7 separate regions of the Homo sapiens genome follow, and regions 2, 3, 4, 5, 6 and 7 are each linked to region 1. The links are contacts of gene promoters, found by promoter capture Hi-C in blood cells and fetal thymus (Javierre and others, 2016). All regions are on one chromosome and are shown on one strand. The core of a region is centred on a gene start or on the middle of the fragment in contact, and the rest is flanking DNA. Distances in the headings are between cores, read along the strand shown. Region 1 holds the start of OR9K2 (olfactory receptor family 9 subfamily K member 2). Region 2 has its middle 7.6 kb from the start of LACRT. Region 3 has its middle 22 kb from the start of DCD. Region 4 has its middle 44 kb from the start of DCD. Region 5 overlaps DCD (dermcidin). Region 6 has its middle 9.8 kb from the start of OR10P1. Region 7 has its middle 6.7 kb from the start of OR2AP1.

What was found. Contacts are between HindIII fragments. The CHiCAGO score rates a contact against its expected background, and 5 or more counts as called.
Region 2: a contact is called between a fragment that was not itself captured here and the fragment with the promoter of OR9K2 in region 1, in 1 of 17 cell types (non-activated CD4 T cells). The highest score is 5.2, in non-activated CD4 T cells.
Region 3: a contact is called between a fragment that was not itself captured here and the fragment with the promoter of OR9K2 in region 1, in 9 of 17 cell types (total CD4 T cells, activated CD4 T cells, M2 macrophages and 6 more). The highest score is 9.7, in total CD4 T cells.
Region 4: a contact is called between a fragment that was not itself captured here and the fragment with the promoter of OR9K2 in region 1, in 12 of 17 cell types (naive CD8 T cells, total CD8 T cells, non-activated CD4 T cells and 9 more). The highest score is 13.7, in naive CD8 T cells.
Region 5: a contact is called between a fragment that was not itself captured here and the fragment with the promoter of OR9K2 in region 1, in 1 of 17 cell types (naive CD8 T cells). The highest score is 5.4, in naive CD8 T cells.
Region 6: a fragment that was not itself captured here is called in contact with the fragment with the promoter of OR9K2 in region 1 in 8 of 17 cell types (naive B cells, M0 macrophages, M2 macrophages and 5 more); the score reaches 11.6 in naive B cells.
Region 7: a contact is called between a fragment that was not itself captured here and the fragment with the promoter of OR9K2 in region 1, in 1 of 17 cell types (M2 macrophages). The highest score is 6.6, in M2 macrophages.

The regions. Positions count from the first base shown.
Region 1 is chr12:55,125,037-55,127,736 of GRCh38, forward strand. OR9K2 (olfactory receptor family 9 subfamily K member 2) reads left to right here and starts at 1,370. Exons shown (of 3, transcript NM_001005243.2): 1 at 1,370-1,480; 2 at 1,792-1,875. The HindIII fragment of the contact is 7,142 bases long and covers 1-2,700 here.
Region 2 is chr12:54,625,911-54,628,731 of GRCh38, forward strand. No RefSeq gene overlaps it. Among named protein-coding and RNA genes, the nearest start is that of LACRT, 7.6 kb to the right of the region's middle. The HindIII fragment of the contact is 2,779 bases long and covers 106-2,821 here.
Region 3 is chr12:54,668,557-54,671,256 of GRCh38, forward strand. No RefSeq gene overlaps it. Among named protein-coding and RNA genes, the nearest start is that of DCD, 22 kb to the left of the region's middle. The HindIII fragment of the contact is 2,913 bases long and covers 1-2,700 here.
Region 4 is chr12:54,691,357-54,694,138 of GRCh38, forward strand. No RefSeq gene overlaps it. Among named protein-coding and RNA genes, the nearest start is that of DCD, 44 kb to the left of the region's middle. The HindIII fragment of the contact is 9,388 bases long and covers 1-2,782 here.
Region 5 is chr12:54,644,699-54,647,473 of GRCh38, forward strand. DCD (dermcidin) reads right to left here. Exons shown (of 5, transcript NM_053283.4): 2 at 2,423-2,461; 3 at 908-1,009; 4 at 475-564; 5 at 1-58. The coding sequence ends at 15. Among named protein-coding and RNA genes, the nearest start is that of DCD, 2.3 kb to the right of the region's middle. The HindIII fragment of the contact is 661 bases long and covers 1,181-1,841 here.
Region 6 is chr12:55,625,537-55,628,551 of GRCh38, forward strand. No RefSeq gene overlaps it. Among named protein-coding and RNA genes, the nearest start is that of OR10P1, 9.8 kb to the right of the region's middle. The HindIII fragment of the contact is 3,558 bases long and covers 1-3,015 here.
Region 7 is chr12:55,577,810-55,580,509 of GRCh38, forward strand. It overlaps the pseudogene ATMINP2. Among named protein-coding and RNA genes, the nearest start is that of OR2AP1, 6.7 kb to the left of the region's middle. The HindIII fragment of the contact is 3,940 bases long and covers 1-2,700 here.

The DNA of each region.
Region 1 (2,700 bases), core at 120-2,619:
CTTTTTTTGTTTTTGTTTTTTAATTATTATTAGACTTTAAGTTCTAGGGTACATGTGCGCAACGTGCAGGTGTGTTACATATGTATACATGTGCCATGTTGGTGTGCTACACCCATTAACTCATCATTTACATTAGGTATATCTCCTAATGCTATCTGTCCCCCCCCGCCACCTCAGGACAGGCCCCGGTGTCTGATGTTCCCCACCCTGTGTCCAAGTGTTGTAGTTGTTCAATTCCCACCTATGAGTGAGAACGTGCGGTGTTTGGTTTTCTGTCCTTGCCATAGTTTGCTGAGACTGATGGTTTCCAGCTTCATCCGTGTCCCAACAAAGGACATGAACTCATCCTTTTTTATGACTGCATAGTATCCCATGGTGTATATGTGCCACATTTTCTTAATCCAGTCTATCATTGTTGGACATTTGGGTTGGTTCCAAGTCAGCGAGACCACAAACCCACCGGGAGGAACGAACAACTCCAGACATGCCACCTTTAAGAGATTTTAAGAGCTGTAACTCACTTTTGAAGTCAGTGAGACCACAAACCCACCAGAAGGAAGAAACTCTGGACACATCTAAATATCTGAAGGAACAAACTCCGGACACACCACCTTTAAGAACTTTAACACTCACCGGAAGGAACCAACAGTTCTTTAAATTATTTTGAACTATATACAGGGACTGATGAGAAGTTACTAACTTAATACATGACACCTGAATAAACAACTTTAAAGCAATTAAAATTACAATATAAACCCAACTTTAGATCCAGTTAATCATGTGGCCTTTACTTGATGGATTAGAGGGCGTTTGTTGGATTTTTGCCCATATCATGGTCGTGCTGTTCTATCTTTCTTCTCAATTACTATTGAGAAAATATAGTTTAAAAAGTCATCAAGGAGAGATTTGGGTGAATAGAATTCTGAAAGTAAATATGAAATTAACTTTATGATTAGGACTCAAAATTTTCCTACAAATGGCATTATGAACCACAACATTTCCTTTCGTATCTATTTCTACTTGCTTATCAAAAACTGTGCTATAATGATAAATTGAAAATGCTGCTTTTTCAGTGAAGAAATTAAAATTAAAAGATCCTTGTGATTTTTCCTAAAGAATGTCTCATATGTACTTTAAGTACTCTTAGGCTTTTTAAAAAAATATAGAATCTCTGAGGTCTTCATGGATCTTGCTTTTAGATCCTAGAAGTCTTACTAATTAATTGACTTGTGTTCTTCTCTCCCAGAGGTACTGTCTCCCAGAACATAGAGGAAATCTCAATACTGTAATTATATGAAAAAGCTGTAGCAAAACCGAAGCCCTCGTGGATAACTGCTGTTGATATTTTGGCAGTATTCAGAGATGCCAAAGAGCTCAGGACCTCTACTTGCATATCCATGGCAATCTATCCTCTTGCCTTGAAAGCATACAAGTTTCTGAGAATTCAGGATAGATAATATCTTGTGGATTGATTCCTCAGGTTCACTTTGCTTATCTATAGATTTTTGTTCCTGGAATCACTTCAGTTTTGGCAGAACATGATTTGAAAAATTCACCTTGACTCTCTTCTAAAAAGGACTATAAAACTTTTCAGGAAATCAACTACTGAAAAAAAGACTTTTTAAAATAGAGCAATGAGGCACATAAGCCACATTTATCTATGGGAAGAATCTAAAACTGTAATAATAAATGTGGATTTGTGGGGAATGATTCATTTTATTTCAAAGTAATTATTTTTCAGTATTTATAATTATGACAGTCATTAATTAACTTTATGTTTATCCTTTCTAGAATTAAAACAATAAACAGAGGAAAACATTGGAACTCTGCTGATTGATTTTTACCAGAATCTGACCAGTTACTAAACAATACAAGGTAAAAGTAACTTAAAACCTGTAAGTTTTTGAAAAATAAGTCACAAACTGACTACTTGTTGTTGGCTTCTGCGGGAATAACTCCCTTTTCCAGGTAAAAAATGTCATCAGCAATGCATTTATTAACATTTATAATGTTACAATGTTTATAACATTTATGATATAAATTTATTTTAATAAGTTTGTTTTTTTATATTCTCTGATTCCACATACTCATTATCATTCAGCTTTTTTCTACGTAATAATATGTATTGAATTATTGTCATTCACTAGATTCAGAACATTATGTTGACAATACGCAGCAAACAAGCTGAGTTTGATGTTAAGGATATTATTGTCAAGTGAGGAATAATTACTATTAATAATAATATTAAATTCTAATGTTGAAATGAGTTTGATAGAAATAAATCTTAGAAATTAAAATAATCTGTTTTGCTTCTAGATGAGAATAAAATGAAGATAAATTATATATATTATTTTTCAAAAAATGATTTTTCATGCTGACTTCAGTCAGCTTTCTTTCACTTCTTAAATGTCTCACATCTTTCCAGACCCTAAGTGCAATCTAATGTAAGCTCTTACTACTTCTTAATTACTTACATATTTAATTTTTGATAAAATGGGTGAATATTTTATTTTCAACATTTAATACAGTCTTAAATAATGATAACATCTTATTCAGCTTTTCTCTTAATAATCTTTTTTCTCAGGCAAAATATTCCATTTCTCCAAGAGTTCTTCATCTCTCTAAACTTTTAACAGATTGATTCTTCCCCTCAACTGAGAATGTTTTGTCCAAAAACGACCATATATATTATTGGTTTTC
Region 2 (2,821 bases), core at 245-2,744, 500 kb before region 1:
AGACCCTTTGGATTGCTGCCATTGTCTCTGGGGTTGGTAGGGATTTCATCAGGATTGGGGTTTTCTCTGAAACAGTATCTGGGGTTAGCTCTTGCTCCTTCATCAAGCTTTGTCATAATCACTGTGTGTCCAAAGTCACCAATTTGTGAATGTGAAATGGTTGAAGTTGTCTCTCCTTTGAGGAGGATGAACCTGGGGAATTTTGGGGGTGCTGTAGGCAGGTAATCCTAGAGCTTGCTTCTCCTTCGTTCAGTACACAGACAACTGGTTAACCACCTGTTTCCTGCCGAGTGTTAGGCATTCTGAGATGAATTCCGCCTGGACCTGCTTCTGAAGTGTTGCCTCTCTGGTGAAGAGGTATTATAGCAGACATGCAAATGCATATTCTAAGAACAGAGAGGATGGAGACATTCATCTCACAGGATATAAATGAGGAGGTGGGTGGAAGTGGGTGAATTCATTCAACATTGAACCAATGTTTCTTGGGTGCTTTCTGTGTTCCAGGCACTATTCTAGGCACTGGGGATATAGAAGTAAAAGAGCAGACAGAAATCCCTGCTGATATGGCTTCGCTGTGTCCCCATCTAAATTTCATCTTGAATTCCCATGTGTTGTGGGAGGGACCTGGTGGGAGGTAATTGAATCATGGGGGCAGGCCTTTCCTGTGCTGCTCTGGTGATAGTGAATAAGTCTCATGAGATCTGATGGTTTTATAAAGGGGATTTTCCCTGCACAAGCTCTCTTCTCTTGTCTGCTGCCATGTGAGATGTGCCTTTCACCTTCCACCATGATTGTGAGGCCTCCACAGCCACGTGGAACTCTAAGTCCAATAAACCTCTTTCTTTCGTAAATTGCCCAGTCTCCACTATGTCTTTATCAGCAGCATGAAAACTGACTAATACACTAAACTGGTACTGTATTAGCACTGATTAATACAGTAGAGTGGGATGTTGCTGAAAAGATACCTGAAAATGTGAAAGCAACTTTGGAACTGGGTAGCAGGCAGAGGCTGGAACAGTTTGGAGGGCTCAGAAGAAGACAGGGAAATGTGGGAAATTCTGGAACTTCCTAGAGACTTGTTGAATGGCTTTGCCCAAAATGCTGATAGCAACATGGACAATAAAGTCCAGGCTGAGGTGGTCTCTGATGGAAATGAGGAACTTGTTTTGGGAACTGGAGCAAAGGTGACTCTTGTTATGTGTTAGCAAAGAGACTGGCAGCATTTTGCTTCTGCCCTAGAGATTTGTGGAACTTTGAACTTGAGAGAGATGATTTAGGGTTTTTGGTGGAAGAGGTTTCTAGGCAGCAAAGCATTCAAGATGTGACTTGGGTGCTGTTAAAGGCATTCCGTTTTATAAGGGAAGCAGAGCATAAATGTTCAGAAAATTTGCAGCCTGACAATGTGATAGAAGATAAAATCCCATTTTCTGAAGAGAAATTCAAGCCGGCTGCAGAAATTTGCACAAGTAATGAGGAGCCGAATGTTAATCCACAAGATGATGGGGAAAATGTCTCTAGGACATGTCAGAGGTTTTCACAGCAGCCCCTCCCATCACAGGCCTGGAGGCCTAGGAGGAAAAAGTGGTTATATGGGCCAGGCCCAGGGTACCTGTGCTCTGTGCAGCCTAGAGACTTGGTGTCTTGTGTTTGAGCTACTCTAGCCATGGCTGAAAGGGGCCAACATAGAGCTTGGGCTGTGGCTCCAGAGGGTGCAAGCCCCAAGCCTTGGCAGCTTTTATGTGGTGCTGAGCCTGTGAGTGCGCAGAATTCAAGAATTGGGGTTTGGGAACCTCCACCTAGATTTCAGAGGATGTATGAAAACACCTAGATGTCCAGGCAGAAGTTTGCTGCAGGGGTGGAGAACTCATGGAGCACCTCAGTTCTTTGGAAAGTTTGGAACTTCTTAGAGATTTGTTAAGTGATTGTGACCAGAATGCTAGTTGAAATATGAACAGTAAGGCCATTCTGATGAGATTTCAGATGGAACTGAGGAATAAGGTATTGGAAACTGGAGTAAAGACCATCCTTGTTATAAATTGACAGAGAACTTGACTGAACTGTGTCTACATTTAAGGGCTTTGTGGAAGGCCAAACTTGAGAGTGACGAACTAGAGTATCTGCAGAAGAAATTTCTAAGCAAAATATAGAAGGAGGTGCATGGTTACTTTTGGCCACTTATGCTGAGATTTGGGAGCAAAGGAATAATTCAAAGACAATTATAAAGATAAAGAAAATTTACATTAAACTGGAAGCAGAGTGGAAAGAGTTGGAAAACTGTCAGCCTGGCCACATGAAGAGTGAAAAAGCACATTCAGAAGAGGAGATCAAGGGTGCAGCTAAAAAGATTAGCACAGATAGAAGGGAGCCGGATGCTATTTCTCAAGACGATGAAGAAAGACCTGAAATGCATTTCAGAGATCTTTGAGGGTGCCCCTCCTGTTATAGGCCCAGAGGTCTAGAAGGGCAGAATGGTGCCTTGGGACTCTGCCCTGAAACCCCAGTGCAGAGCTTCATGGCTGCCCTAGCCAAGGCTCAAGTGACCCCAATTGTAGCTTGTGCTGCAGTTTTGGAAGGTAGAAGCCATAAACCTTGGCAGTGTCCAGGTGGTGCTGACTCTGCAGGCTTGCAGACAGCAAAAGCTGTGGCAGCTTGGCAGCCTCCACCAAGATTTCAAAGGATATCATCAAAAGCCTAGGAGCCCAGGCAAAGATTTGTCACAGGGGCAGAGCCACTGCAAAGAGTCCCCATCTAGCAGAGCCATGGAAGTGGTGCCACCGTAGAGAGTCTCCATTAGGGTAATGCCTAGTAGAGCTGTGGGAGT
Region 3 (2,700 bases), core at 39-2,538, 460 kb before region 1:
ATAAATAAATGGCAGGGTTAGAAGGTGAACTGCAGTCATAGATTTCTTTTATAATAGACACACCAGAAATAAAGTGACACACAAATGTTGAATATAAAGAGATGGAGAGAGAAATGTTAGGTAAATGGAATAGCAACATTATCTGGCAAAATAGAACGCAAGGCCAAAATAATTAAAGAGAACATGAAGTGCTGTTTTAAATCGCATAGGTTTAAAAAAGGTAAAATTCACTGAGAAGATGTAATAGTTACAAACTTTTATGCATCACACTTGCATTGAAACAAAGCAAAAACTGTGATGACTATGAGGACTACCTGACAGAGCCACACTCTCTGTAGGAGACATCGATCTGTTAAGTCTCGGAAGGTGACAGTTTATGTGGACAGAATATAATTTTGTATACAGAACATTTGAATAACACAATTGACAAACTTGCTTGAATGTTATAGCCAATGAAAAGAATAAACATTTTTTCAATACCTGTGTGGTTTTACAAAATCGATTAAATACTAGGTATCAAAGAATACCTCAATCCATTCTCCAAAGAAGAAATTGTAAAGGCCACTTTTTCTTACCACCATATAATACAAGTTAGAAATTAAAAATGAAAGGCAAATCATAATAATTAAAAAAAGAGTCCCTGGGGAAAAACAACAATCTTTCTTAGGTTAAAAGGAAAACAGTTGTGGGGTGGGGGGAGGGGAAAGGGATAGCATTAGGAGATATACCTAATGCTAAATGACGAGTTAATGGGTGCAGCACACCAGCATGGCACATGTATACATACGTAACTAACCTGCACATTGTGCACATGTACCCTGAAACTTAAAGTATAATAATAATAATAAAAAAAAGAAAACAGAGCCTTAAGTGATGATTGTTTTGGAAATGGATATGTGAACGCTGCGCACCTTTACTTTGCAGCCAACTGTTCTTAGAGGATCCCTGGTGTTTAGTATTTTATGAGAAATGAACATGTAGCAAAAGTAAATTCAAGTTTAGAAACTAGAAAATGTCTAATCAAACAATGTGAAAAATAGAAGAGGGCATTAATAGATGTAAAAGCAGAAATTAACTAAATTAAATTATGCAATCCCAATAGGAAAACATGGTTCTCCCTGAGTCTCTTCTGAAGTGCAGTCCACTCATTCCCACAGCCATGCTTCTTAGGTTGGGCAGTGGAATTCACAGACATGTGGATCATCCTAGACTCCACTGCAGAGTCCATTGAGTCATATCACTAATACCTCCTCCTCGGAGGAGTCTTGGGTCATCTGTCTACCCCTCCTCATTGTTTCACCTGCTGGGCTCCCAGCGACTCCTTTCCTTCATGGAAGACTTACTCCTGAGTGGTGGTCTTCTTTTTTGTTTTAAGCTGCTGGACAACTTCATGGATCATGACCATGACTTACCCAGAAGTCTGGGTTCTAGGGAACCATGGAAGTTCGGGTGAAAGTAGAAATTGACCTTATCATAACTTTCACCCCAACTCCCATGGTCAATCTGTGGCCGTGGTCATTTCTTAGAGTTACTCCAATTCTGAAAACACCCACATCCTCACCACATATCACCTATCCTTCCAACTCTTTCATTCTGATACTTCTTCTATATTTATTTTTCAAACTTCAGTTCCCTGACCATTTTATTTTCTCTTTTTCTGTATGCCTACTCCAGTCTTCACGTTCTTTCCTTTCCAGGTTAAATTACATGGTCTTCCACTTAGAGAAGTTTTTTGCCAATCTGTGTCACTTCCTGACCTCATTTTTACAAAGTTTGGCAAATTCTGAGTCTTGATAAATCTAGCTCTCTACTCTCTCTGTCCTATTCCAGGGCTATTGAGCACTTGTAGGAAAAAAAGGATATAAAACCATAAAGATTATACATTATAAACTTCTGGTTTGTAACCTCAACTAGGATCCCACTACATCCTTCACACACACCTAGTGACTTCATCAGCTTCACAGAGAAAATACAAGTGTTTTGGTACAAATTCCCTTTATTTCCTACCAATATATTTGTAACCTTACATGTACTTGTGTCCACCTTTTCTTTCTTTTTTACAGTAACTATGTGAGAGTTTTTCTTTCTCTTGCCTAAAACTTAACCCTTCATCTAAGATCTGACTCCTGTCTCCTCCTGCCTTCTCAGGAATATTGCTCTGTTGATTATCGCTACTCTTCCTTGCACTTTAATTTCTCCTGGACCTTTAAAAAATATCAGTTAAACAAGGCTTTTGAGGTCTTTCATGATCTGGCCTCTTCCTACCATCTCTTCCACATTTCACCTCTTAGTTTATGTCCTAGCTATGCATTTTTCTTTGAGTTCCTTGAGCACACGTTGTTTGCACTTATCTCTGGGATTTTGCACCTGCTGATCCTTCTTTCTGAAACATTATCTTCCCTTTCTCCTCCAATACTCATATTTGAGTAATTTTTCATTTTATATCACTTTCTCTGGGAATCTTCTATCCTGAAAGTTTTGATTAGGCTTAGTTCTAATAGCTTCATTGCACCCTCTAATAGACTATTGTAGAACTTATTATTCTAAGATGTACTAAGAAATTTATTTTTCTGACCTTTCTCACTCTTGTTTCCTCCAACAAGACCAAGATTGTCTTGTTCAGTGTTGATTTCCTAGCATCTGGAACATGTCCGGCATAAGAAGCATTAAATATGTTTTTTTGTTGGATTGATTAAAATC
Region 4 (2,782 bases), core at 94-2,593, 430 kb before region 1:
ACTATAATTCATTCATTGGTTCATTGACTTTTTGAGCACCTACAATGGGGAAGGCACTTTTCTAGGCATTGAGGCATCTTTGGGGCACTGGAGAGATAGCAAAGAGAATATAAAAAACAAAGTCCTTGTCCTATGGAAGTTGTAGTGTGGCTTTGACACAAGAATAGAACAGAGTTTAAGTCAGAATAGAAGTTATAGTATGGCTTTGACAGAAGAATAGAGAGAGACATACTCAGTAAGACTGAGTGGAGAATCTACATGACTTAAGTCTAATTGGAATTCAGTGGCTGATTTGTCACTTAATAAAAGATGTAAGAATAATCAGCTTTCAACTAGAAGAAAACAGTTCCTTACTTTACCTAATGTATAAAACATATTCCAGATGGCCTAAACAATTTTTAACCCCTCCATCTCTAAACTTAGATGAACATTCAGGAGAATATGTAAATCCATGTAAATCAAAAAGATCTTTTTAAGCAAGGGAGAAGAGAAACTGAAAAAGAAAATAAACATTTATGAGAACCTACAAATTTAAATGTTGTCCATGTCAAAAGATACTATAAATGTTAAAAGATAAAATAGAGTAGGATATATATTTTTAGCTATACATATGATATTCAGAGGGCTACTATTTTTCTTATGGAGGGAATGTCTATAAAATGACAAGAAGAGAAAAATAACAATCACCAAACTAGCCATAATTATAAAGAGGAAATCTATTGAAAGAAAATACATATTGCCAATAAAAATATGGAAATCTTTCTGATCATTAGGGAAGTGAAAATTAAAACACCAATTAAGGAATTTTTTTCAGCTATCATATGAGGAAAAATTGGAAAATTGATAAGATTGAGCAGTACCAAGTATATGGGGAAATTCATGGGCTGTCAGTGAGAACATGGCTTGCCACAATCTTTCTGGAAAATAATCTGACAATATCTATTAAAATAAAAATATATAAATCATTTGTCCTAACGTTCCCAATTATGGGACTGTATACTATAGAGTATACAGAAGCACACATACATAGGGATGTATGGACAAAGATGTTTATCACAGACTTGTAGCAGCAAAAACCAAACAGATAAATACATACATACATTCAGCTAAAAAAATGAGAACCAAAACTAAAACCACATAGAAAAAAATACATGTGTGTCTGTCTATAAGGGGTTACTTGCGTAGATTGTGGTACAATCTCAATACTGTCCAGCTGTTAAGAGAGTGAATTGGATCTGTATAGTGGAACCGGAAGAATGTTTCTACCAAATCATTAAGTTAAAAAAATGAGTTGTAAGAGCACACAGTGAGATTCCTTATGTGAAACAAAACAAAACAGCACAGATATTGTTTATAGGATCTTAGAGAGAGGTGTGGAAGACTATATACAAAACTATTCACATATTACCTCAGGAACTGGGATTGGAGAATGTGGGACAGGAAGGGGTCATGACCTTTCTCTATCTCTGTGCTATTTAGTGTAAGAAAAGAGCTTTGTAAGGACAGGGATTTGTATCTTGTTCATTGCTGCCTCTTTGGTATCTAAAACATAACAGGCAGCTTGGATCCATTCAGTAAGATTTATTGGCCAGACATGGTGGCTCACACCTGCAAGCCCAGAACTCTGGGAGGCCAAGGCAGGCGGCTCACTTGAGGTCAAGAGTTGACCAGCCTGGCCAACATGGTGAAACCATGTCTCTACTAAAAAATACAAAAATTAGATGGTTTTGGTGGTGCACGCCTGTAATACCAGCTACAAGGGAGGCTGAGGCAGGAGAATCACTTGGACCCAGGCGACAGAGGTTGCAGTGAGCCGAAACTGTGCCATTGCACTCCAGCCTGGGCGACAGAGCAAGACTCTGTCTCAAAGAAGAAAAAAAAAGTATGGAATAAATAATCATTTGTTATTTCTTTAATTTAAAAAAAAAATGGGATAAGACAATGGAGAATTTAGAGTAGAGTAACCAAGAAGAGATGTGGAGAGGGCTACTGCAGAAATGAAAGCTCTCTTCCTAGAGTAACCTGGGAACTTTTAAGTCAGGAGTCAAAAAGTATATGGAGGAGGAGCTAGCCACAGGGTGAATGTAAAGGGGATTAAGCAAGCAACTCTCCCAGGAAAAACGAGGGTCCTCTTCTCCACTTGTTTTCAGGAGTGGCTGGTTTCAGTGTTTGCTTCCAGGTGAATGTGAAGGGCTCAGCTGGTATGAGAGGTCAGAAAGAGACAGGGCAGGATCTGATGTAATTCTGGGTTTTCAAAGTAGTCTCAGAAAAAACAAAAAACAACGGGCTGTTACAGAGAACCATACTAAAGCCAGTCATTTATAGCAAATTCATTCCCAGATTGCCTGCTAGCTCCCCATTCACACACCACAAGGGAATTGGTTGGCAACCTCCTCATCCCATTTATCATGAGCCTGCAGTTGGCCAGCTCCAGGGAGAGACAGTCCCCCTATACAAATGCTGAAGGAGCCAATGCCTGGTGTTGATGATATTCAACTTAGTACTTCATTTAAAGCAAAGAATTAGCAAATATTTGAGGAAAATTAGCATCATGAAAAAGAAGTGTGAAGAAGATTAAACAGGATGACTAGCTAAGGAAGAAACAGAGAAAGATACCCTAGAAGAAAACCTAGGCAATACCATTCAGGACATAGAATTGGTCAAAGACTTCATGACTAAAACACCAAAAGCAATTGCAACAAAAGCCAAAATTGACAAATGCGATCTAATTAAACTAAAGAGCTTCTGCACAGCAAAAGAAACTATCATCACAGTGAACAGG
Region 5 (2,775 bases), core at 261-2,760, 480 kb before region 1:
GCTTCTCCTTACAGCTATAGTACTGAGTCAAGGACGTCTTTAACGTCATGGACGGCTCCTAGGACAGCCACAGAAAAAAATGGGGTAAAGGGGTAGGAAGAAAAAAGGAAGGGAAAGAGAGCCAGGGAATTGGGGAAGGAGAGGTAGGGGAAGGGGAAGGGGAAGGGAGGCCTGGAGGTGCTTACACAGAAGTCAGAGGGATGGAGGTTAGATTCACAGGAGCCCCAAAGACCAACCTCTCTTCCCCACCTTGGCAGGGGCAGGGGGCAAGAGCAATAAAAAAAAAAGCAAGTTAGACCCCAGGAAGTATCAATATCAGACAAGAATGGCAATTTAAATCTGGATGAGGAATTGGAGACATTTGAAAGCACAAAGTGAGGGGTCTTCAATGGGGGGGCTGTGGCAGTTTCAGATCTCATGCAAGGGGTGGAGACTGAGGCTGGTCCTGAGGGAGGAGTGGGGACATATACTCACCTTTACCCACGCTTTCTAGATCTTCGACTGCATCTTTTCCTAGTTTTCCGAGTCCCCCCACAGCTTTTTTTGCTCCGTCTAGGCCTTTTTCTAGGGTGGATTCAGAAAAGAAGAGGTCATAGAAGCAGAAAAACTACTTCCTTTGTAGGAGAGCTCCCCCGCTTCCTAGGCACCATGGGCACCCCTAAGGTGAAGTGGTTTTGCTGAAGGAACCAACTTCTCTGTCATGGGAAGGTTGGTAGGCCAGTATTAGCTGCAAAACCTATGGCCCAGAAACCCTGTATGTAGAAGCAGGTGTGCACCCCAAGCCCTCCCTAGGAATATGGGTGTAGCTGTGTCCCTGTGCTTGTGCCTGTGAGGGCAGACTGGCCCCCAGATATCTTGCTGTTTCATGCATCAGAATTCTATACCAGGCATTGGGAAAGAGGCTTACCCAGAAGGCTGGATCTCTGCTTCCTTGGCTTTGGTGCCTGTCTGGCTAACCCTGGGTCTTCACCTGCATTTTCCTTTTGAGCTGCTGATGCTTCATGGCAAGCTGCAAGGGTAAGGGAGTGAGAGGAATAATAGCTATTTCACTCTTTCCACCCTGGTCGGGGAGCAGGTGGTGCTTTTACCCCCTCAAGGTCTGGCTTGAGGATAGCTCCCTCTCTCCCAATTCCTCTAGAGCTTGACTTTCATGATGTGTTAGGTTCTTTAGCATCCCTCAAGCTTTTTCCTGCTGCCTCCAAGACTTTTCCTGCTCCTCCAGGGCCCTTTTCTAGAGTAGATTATGGTTCAGGGAAAAGTAAAGTCATTTTGGCAGAAAGATCACCTTAAAGAGACTCCCCCTAGTTTTCATCCCTTATACCAGCCCCCTAGTGTGGGGAGGTTTTGCAGAGGGCACTAGCTTCTCTCTTCTAGGCAGGTTGGTGGATGAGGACAGAAATTTGGCAGTCTCTGAAGGGGGCTTCTGTAGCTGTAAACAATCCATTTGTTTATCTGGAAAATCAAAACTTCTGTTATTGCATTGGTGTGAAACGCTCCAGGGGCATCTGAGAAGACACCAAGGTGCCCGGTGTTCCCTCTGGGCTTTATGTGAGAAGGCAGGGAGGGTGCAGGTGTGTGCTGTGGTTGGGGCTCGCAGTGCAGTGAAGATGTGCAGAAATACAGTTTATCTTTCTGCCGTTAATTATCCAGAGTGTGTACATGGCTGGGGAAGTAGAAATGAATGAGAATTAGATCTCTCTCTCAGGGGCTTACAGTCTAGGAAAAGAGACAAAACTGCTATATATGGGAAGCCCAGAAGAGGGAGGGATGAAAGGAGAGACTGGGACAGAGGCACCATACACACCAGGCAGGGAGGGCTTCAGAGAGCAGCTGGGACTTGAAGCTTGTTAGAGCACGGACAGGTAGGGGTTGAAAAGGTACCCAGGAAGAGGAACGTTGGGTAGTAGAAAGTTACTCATGCTGTCTGATGAAACAAATGTATAACGTTTGATGTGGAGAATGCAAGCAGTGGAGTCTAGGGAAATTATATTTGAAAAGTACCCTGGATCTAGATCATGGATACCCTGAATGTCAGGCTAGGAGGTGAGAGTTTCGTGATGAGAAATGGGAAACCACGTGAAAGGTTTTTGAATTGAAATTGTTGGTGAAGGTGGGGCAGATGAAAACCTCTGAACCCATCTAATGTGAAGTTCCTCCTCTTGCTCAAGAAAAGTATTCTTTTCTTTCCCATTTTTCTTACTCCACTTCTACTTCCAGACAGGGCCACCCTTTCCCCCATGCTCTGTCCTTCTCCAGTGCATGAGTCTCTCAGGAAGTCTCCCTTCTCCATGTCTCCTAAAAGTCGGCCTCCCAACTCTCCTTCCCCGGACCCCCCTTCTGCTTCTCTGACTTCCTCCACTCATATCCCAAGTCATTAACCCTCCCACCCAGGACTGGGGCAGGAGGAAGAGAAAGGACTCACGGTTCCCCGATCCTGGGGCAGAGGCGGCCTCTGGATCATCTGCAAAGGAGGGAACAGTGACCATGTCAAGTAGGGCACAGTTGCATGAGCTGTATCCAGCCAGGGCTGCCTAGAATTCCCAGGCCTCTAATCTCAGGAGTGTGGCAGTGGACAGACAGGAGAGAAATCTCTGCTTCACAAGGGGCCCACTAGAAATGCTTTTTGGTATCTCAACCAAATCCCTCTCTCTGTTATCCTCCCTAGACCTAGGCTACTCAGAACATCCCTATGGAAATGGAATCATTCTCTGACTCTCTTCTATGTCTTAGATGTCCAAGTTTCATAATGAAAGTTGAAGGGGCATGACCACGAGG
Region 6 (3,015 bases), core at 392-2,891, 500 kb after region 1:
AACAAAGCCCAGAGTCACAAGGACAGGAAGCAAATATTTTGCAAGTCGTTAGGTTTAGTGGCAAGGGGTGCCACTCCTACTTCAACCCCTTGGTAACCAATGTATTTTGTATTTGTATTTTGGCTATTTGGCTATTGTATTTCGGTTATAGGAGAATACCACATATTGGTCTGGGGTTCAGAGCCTATGTCTCACCTATAAGAGATCACTCAAACTTTTCAAGGTTTTTTCTCCCAACTGGTGCTGTATTTGAGTTTTTAATTGGCCATTCTATTGTTCAAAAAAGGCCAGGTGGTTCTGGGGAATGAAGTTACAGGGTAATCCCAATGAGTCCTGTGAGCATTGGCACATTGTCTCACTTGTTTTGCTATATATTTTTTCCTTGATTAGATGCAATATTATGTGAAATATCATGACAACAAATGCAGCATTCAGTAAGTCCGTGGATGGTGACACTTGCAGATGCAGGCAGACAGGAAAGATAAATCCATGCCCAGAGTAAGTGATTATCCCAGTGAGTGCAGAGCATTGCCTCCTTCAGGCAAGGGGTACAATGTAATCAAACTATCCCCAGGCATATTAGTTACCCATTGCTATGTAACAAATTACTACAAAACTTCCCTGCCTAAAACCACAGACAATTATCATCTCACAGTTTGAGTTGGTCAAGAATCCAGGAGAGAGCAATGAGCTGGGTGCCTCTCGCTCAGGGTCTCTCACGAGGATGGAGTCAAGCTGTCACCGAGGGTGCAGTCACTTAAGGGACAACTGAGGTTGGAAAATCCACTTCTAAACTCATTCATGTGCCTGTTGGCAGGCCTCAGATCTATTTCCAGGTTCACTCACATGGTTGCTGGCAGGCTTTGGCTCTTCCTCATGTGAGTCTCTCCACAGGCTGCCGAGTGTCCTCAATATGGCAACTTGTGAGAAGGGGGAAGAGAAAGACAGAGACAGAGGCAGAGGAGAACCAGACAGGACCCAAGATGAAAGCCAAGTCTTTTTGCAACATAATGTCAGATATCCCATCACTTTTGCCATGTTCCCTTCATTAAAAGCAGGTCACTGGTTCCAACCTACACTAAAAGGGAGAGAATTACACAAATGCATGAGTATCAGAAGATGAGTTTCATGGAGAACTATCTTAGAGGCTGCCTACTACACCAAGCTATTGTTACTGGCAAGTTACACACTCAGCCATGGCATAGCCAGACCAGCCTTGGTGAGGGGAACCATTGTCGGTAAGCCTGTGCCTAACCTTCATCCCTTCCGCCATGGACATTTTGATTGTGATCCCTTGAATAAGCACTGGAGATGCTGGAGAAGGCTGACTGACATCTACCAGCTGGGTCATCTTGATCCCTAAGTATTAACAGTATCTTCTGTAGTGAGAGACCTTTCGTGAGCATCCACATTGTCTCACCATTGTCCCACATATTCACAAATAGTCTCGCAGTCTGGACCCATTTTCAAAAGCTCATTCATAGAATAGTAAGATGGTTGAGAGCATGAACTCTGCAGCCAGATCACCTGGATTCAAATGCCAGCTCAGCCATTTACTAGCTGTATGGTCTTGTTCAAGTGCCTAACCACGCTATGCCTCAGATTCCTCTTCAGTAAAGTCAGCATAATAGTTGAAACTACCCCACAGTGTTTTGGGAGGATTCAGTAAGTTAATATATAAAAAGTGCTTAGAACAATATCTGACACAGAGTGAGCATTACAGAAGTGTTAGTGATGATGATGATGGTGATGATGATGATCCCCAGAATGCCTTGTCACTCATTCTCCTGTATTGTTCCTTCTACTTCCTAAACCTCCTGCCAAACAAACCATTAGCTGCTGCTCATGGATCAATGTAAATCCATATCTCAGGCCATCCTTCTTCCAGGAAAAGCAGACTCTTTAAGTTGTACTATCAAAATTCTGCTCAGCAGGCATTTTTCTTCTCCACTCTTCCTCAGGTCACCCCTTTTTTCCTCAGGGTCAACCCCCATTACTGGGGCTATAATGCCATAGATGTCCATATCTAGTTAGTCCCAGCAGAGTTGTGCAAAGTTCTCTGTAAAGCTGGGCCCAAATATTTTTCCTCCTCCATCAACCAGTCATGAGGAACACTACATGAGGCCATAGGAAGAAAGGACATTAGTGTGTCAAGAATAGACATGACGGGAGTGTGGACCATGAACTGGTGGAATGTCCTTGTGACTTCAGGACTTCTTCAAGTCTGATCTCATGTATGCCCCTTCACTTGAAGATGGGGTGCTTCTGGGCCTGACCATGCAGCTTTATCAATTGGGAAACACCCAGGTCATAAAGGGCAGCTCAGGTTGCAGAGTCACCTGGTATCCCAGGGTCAGGTGTTTATCCTCTGCCAGAGATCAAATAACAAGCAATGGCTCAGAGCAGTGGCTTGTGCTTGTAATCCCAGCACTTTGGGAGGCCAAGGCAGGAGGATCACTTGAGCTCAAGAATTTGAGACCAGCCTGGGGAACATAGTGAAACCTCATTGCTACTAAAAAAGTTTTAAAACTTAGCCAGGCGTGCTGGCGCACACCTGTAGTCCCAGCTACTCAGGGGGGCTGAGACAGAAGGATTGCTTGAGCCCAGGAGGTCGAGGCTGCAATGAGTCCTGATTGTGTCACTGCACTCCAGCCTGGATGACAAAGTGAGACCCTGTCTCAAAAATACATAAATAACAAACAAGGAGATATTTCTCAAAAGTATAATAGTTACTTGGTGAAGAGGGCGTGGACTTTCTCTGAATCCTTGGGGCCTCCACTACAACTCTTCTGTGAATGGGGCTTTTCACAGGCTCCAAACAGCACCAATTCAGCCATGGCACTTCTCACACCTTCAGATTCCCTTAGTCATAAAAGCCAGCAACAGAATTAGCTGTATTGCAGCCTGGACCAGCCAATATCCTTCTCTTACTCTGGGCCCCTGGCAAAGCTACAAGTTTTATGTGTTTAGCTGAAAATATAAAAGACCTAAGCCTGACAGTTTCTTTCTTTAAGC
Region 7 (2,700 bases), core at 65-2,564, 450 kb after region 1:
AATAACTAATGTACAAATGAAAAATTTCTTTATTACTTAAGGTTCAAGCAATTGTCATAGCTTTTTTTTATTATACTTTAAGTTTTAGGATACATGTGCACAACGTGCAGGTTTGTTACATATGTATACATGTGCCATGTTGGTGTCCTGCACCCATTAACTCATCATTTAACATTAGGTATATCTCCTAATGCTATCCCTTCCCCCTCCCCCCACCCCACAACAGGCCTCAGTGTGTGATGTTCCCCTTCATGTGTCCATGTGTTCTCATTGTTCAATTCCCACCTATGAGTGAGAACATGTGGTGTTTGGTTTTTTGTCCTTGCGATAGTTTACTGAGAATGATGGTTTCCAGCTTCAACCATGTCCCTACAAAGGACATGAACTCATCATTTTTTATGGCTGCACAGTATTCCATGATGTATATGTGCCACATTTTCTTAATCCAGTCTATCATTGTTGGACATTTGGGTTGGTTCCAAGTCTTTGCTATTGTGAATAGTGCCACAATAAACATACGTGTGCATGTGTCTTTATAGCAGCATGATTTATAATTTTTGGGTATATACCCAGTAATGGGATGGCTGGCTCAAATGGTATTTCTAGTTCTAGATCCCTGAGGAATCGCCACACTGACTCCCACAATGGTTGAACTACTTTACAGTCCCACCAACAGTGTAAAACTGTTCCTATTTCTCCACATCCTTTCCAGCACCTGTTGTTTCCTGACTTTTTAATGATTGCCATTCTAACTGGTGTGAAATGGTATCTCATTGTGGTTTTGATTTGCATTTCTTTGATGGCCTGTGATGACGAACATTTTTTCATGTGTCTTTTGGCAGCATAAATGTCTTCTTTTGAGAAGTGTGTGTTGATATCCTTCACCCACTTGTTGATGGGGTTGTTTGATTTTTTCTTGTAAATTTGTTTGAGTTATTTATAGATTCTGGATATTAGCCCTTTGTCAGATGAGTAGATTGCAAAAATTTTCTCCCATTTTGTAGGTTGCCTGTTCACTCTGATGGTAGTTTATTTTGCTGTGCAGAAGCTCTTTAATTAGATCCCATTTGTCAATTTTGGCTTTTGTTGCCATTGCTTTTGGTGTTTTAGACATGAAGTCCTTGCCCATGTCTATGTCCTGAATGGTAATGCCTAGGTTTTCTTCTAGGGTTTATATGGTTTGAGGTCTAATGTTTAAGTCTTTAATCCATCTTGAATTAATTTTTGTATAAGGTATAAGGAAGGGATCCAGTTTCAGCTTTCTACATATGGCTAGCCAGTTTTCCCAGCACCATTTATTTAATATGGAATCGTTTCCCCATTTCTTGTTTTTGCCAGGTTTGTCAAAGATCAGATAGTTGTAGATATGTGGCATTATTTCTGAGGGCTCTGTTCTGTTCCATTGATCTATATCTCTGTTTTGGTACCAGTACCATGCTCTTTTGGTTACTGTAGCCTTTTAGTATAGTTTGAAGTCAGGTAGCGTGATGCCTCCAGCTTTATTCTTTTGGCTTAGAGATGTAGATTTGGTCTTATTTATTGTTTTCTGGTTGTTTTGTATATCCCTTGTTCCTTACTTCCTATCTTATTGTCTATTTTTGTGGTTGGGTAGTTTCTGTAGTAATAAGATTTGATTCCTTTGTTTCTCCTTTCTCTATTGGCTCTACCAGTGAGTTTATAGTTTTGCATATTTTCACCATGGTGGTTATCATCTTTTCTCTTCCAGATGTATGACTCCCTTGAACATTTCTTGTAAGTCCAGTATGGTGACTATTAATTCCCTTCATTTTTGCTTGTTTGTCACATATTTTATTTCTCCTTCATTTCTGAAGGATGGCTTTGCTGGGCATAATATTGTTGGCTAGCAGGGTTTTTTTTTCTTTCAGTACTTTGAATACATCATTCCATTCTCTCCTGGCCTGTAAGGCTTCTGCTGAGAAATCTACTGTTAGTGAAATGGGGATTCCCTTATACATGACTTAATGTTTTTCCCTGGTGTTTTTAGAAATTTTTTCTTTGTCTTTGGCTTCTGACAATTTGACTAAAATGTGTCTTGGATAGGACATGTTTGGGTTGAATCTATTTGGGTTTCTTTGAGATTCCCGTATTTGGATGTCCAGCCCTCTCTCAAGAATTGGAAAATTTTGACCTATTATTTTATTAAATATGCTTTCTATACCATTTCCCTTATTTTCTTCTCCTAAAATGCCCAGAATATGAATATTTGTTTGCTTAATGGTGTCCTGTAAATCCTATAGGCTTTGTTCACTTCTCTCTTTTGTTTTTCAGTCTGCCTGTGTTATTTCAAAAGACCTGTTTTCAACTTCAGAAATTATTTATTCTGCTTGGTCTAGTCTCTTAAAAGTTGAAAATCTTTATGGTCAAGGACCTCTTGCCACATTACTAAATTCAATGGTGGATGTGTAATAGGTATCTCAAACTCAAGCATTCTAAGTGCCTAATCTACACCACCTCTCCATCTCACCTGACAATCTCTCCTTTCCTCCAGCCCCTGGCAAATTTTGTTTACCCACAGCCCTTCCCAGCTCAATCCCATGGTTTTAGTCTTGAACCATCCCACTAGTTTTGGTTTCTCTGAAGATCTCACCTGATTGGAAACAAGTGCCTATAAATGCATCACTCTGAGCAGCTATAGGTAAAGTTAGCCTCAAGCTGGGCAAAAATGTCTGTGTGAACACT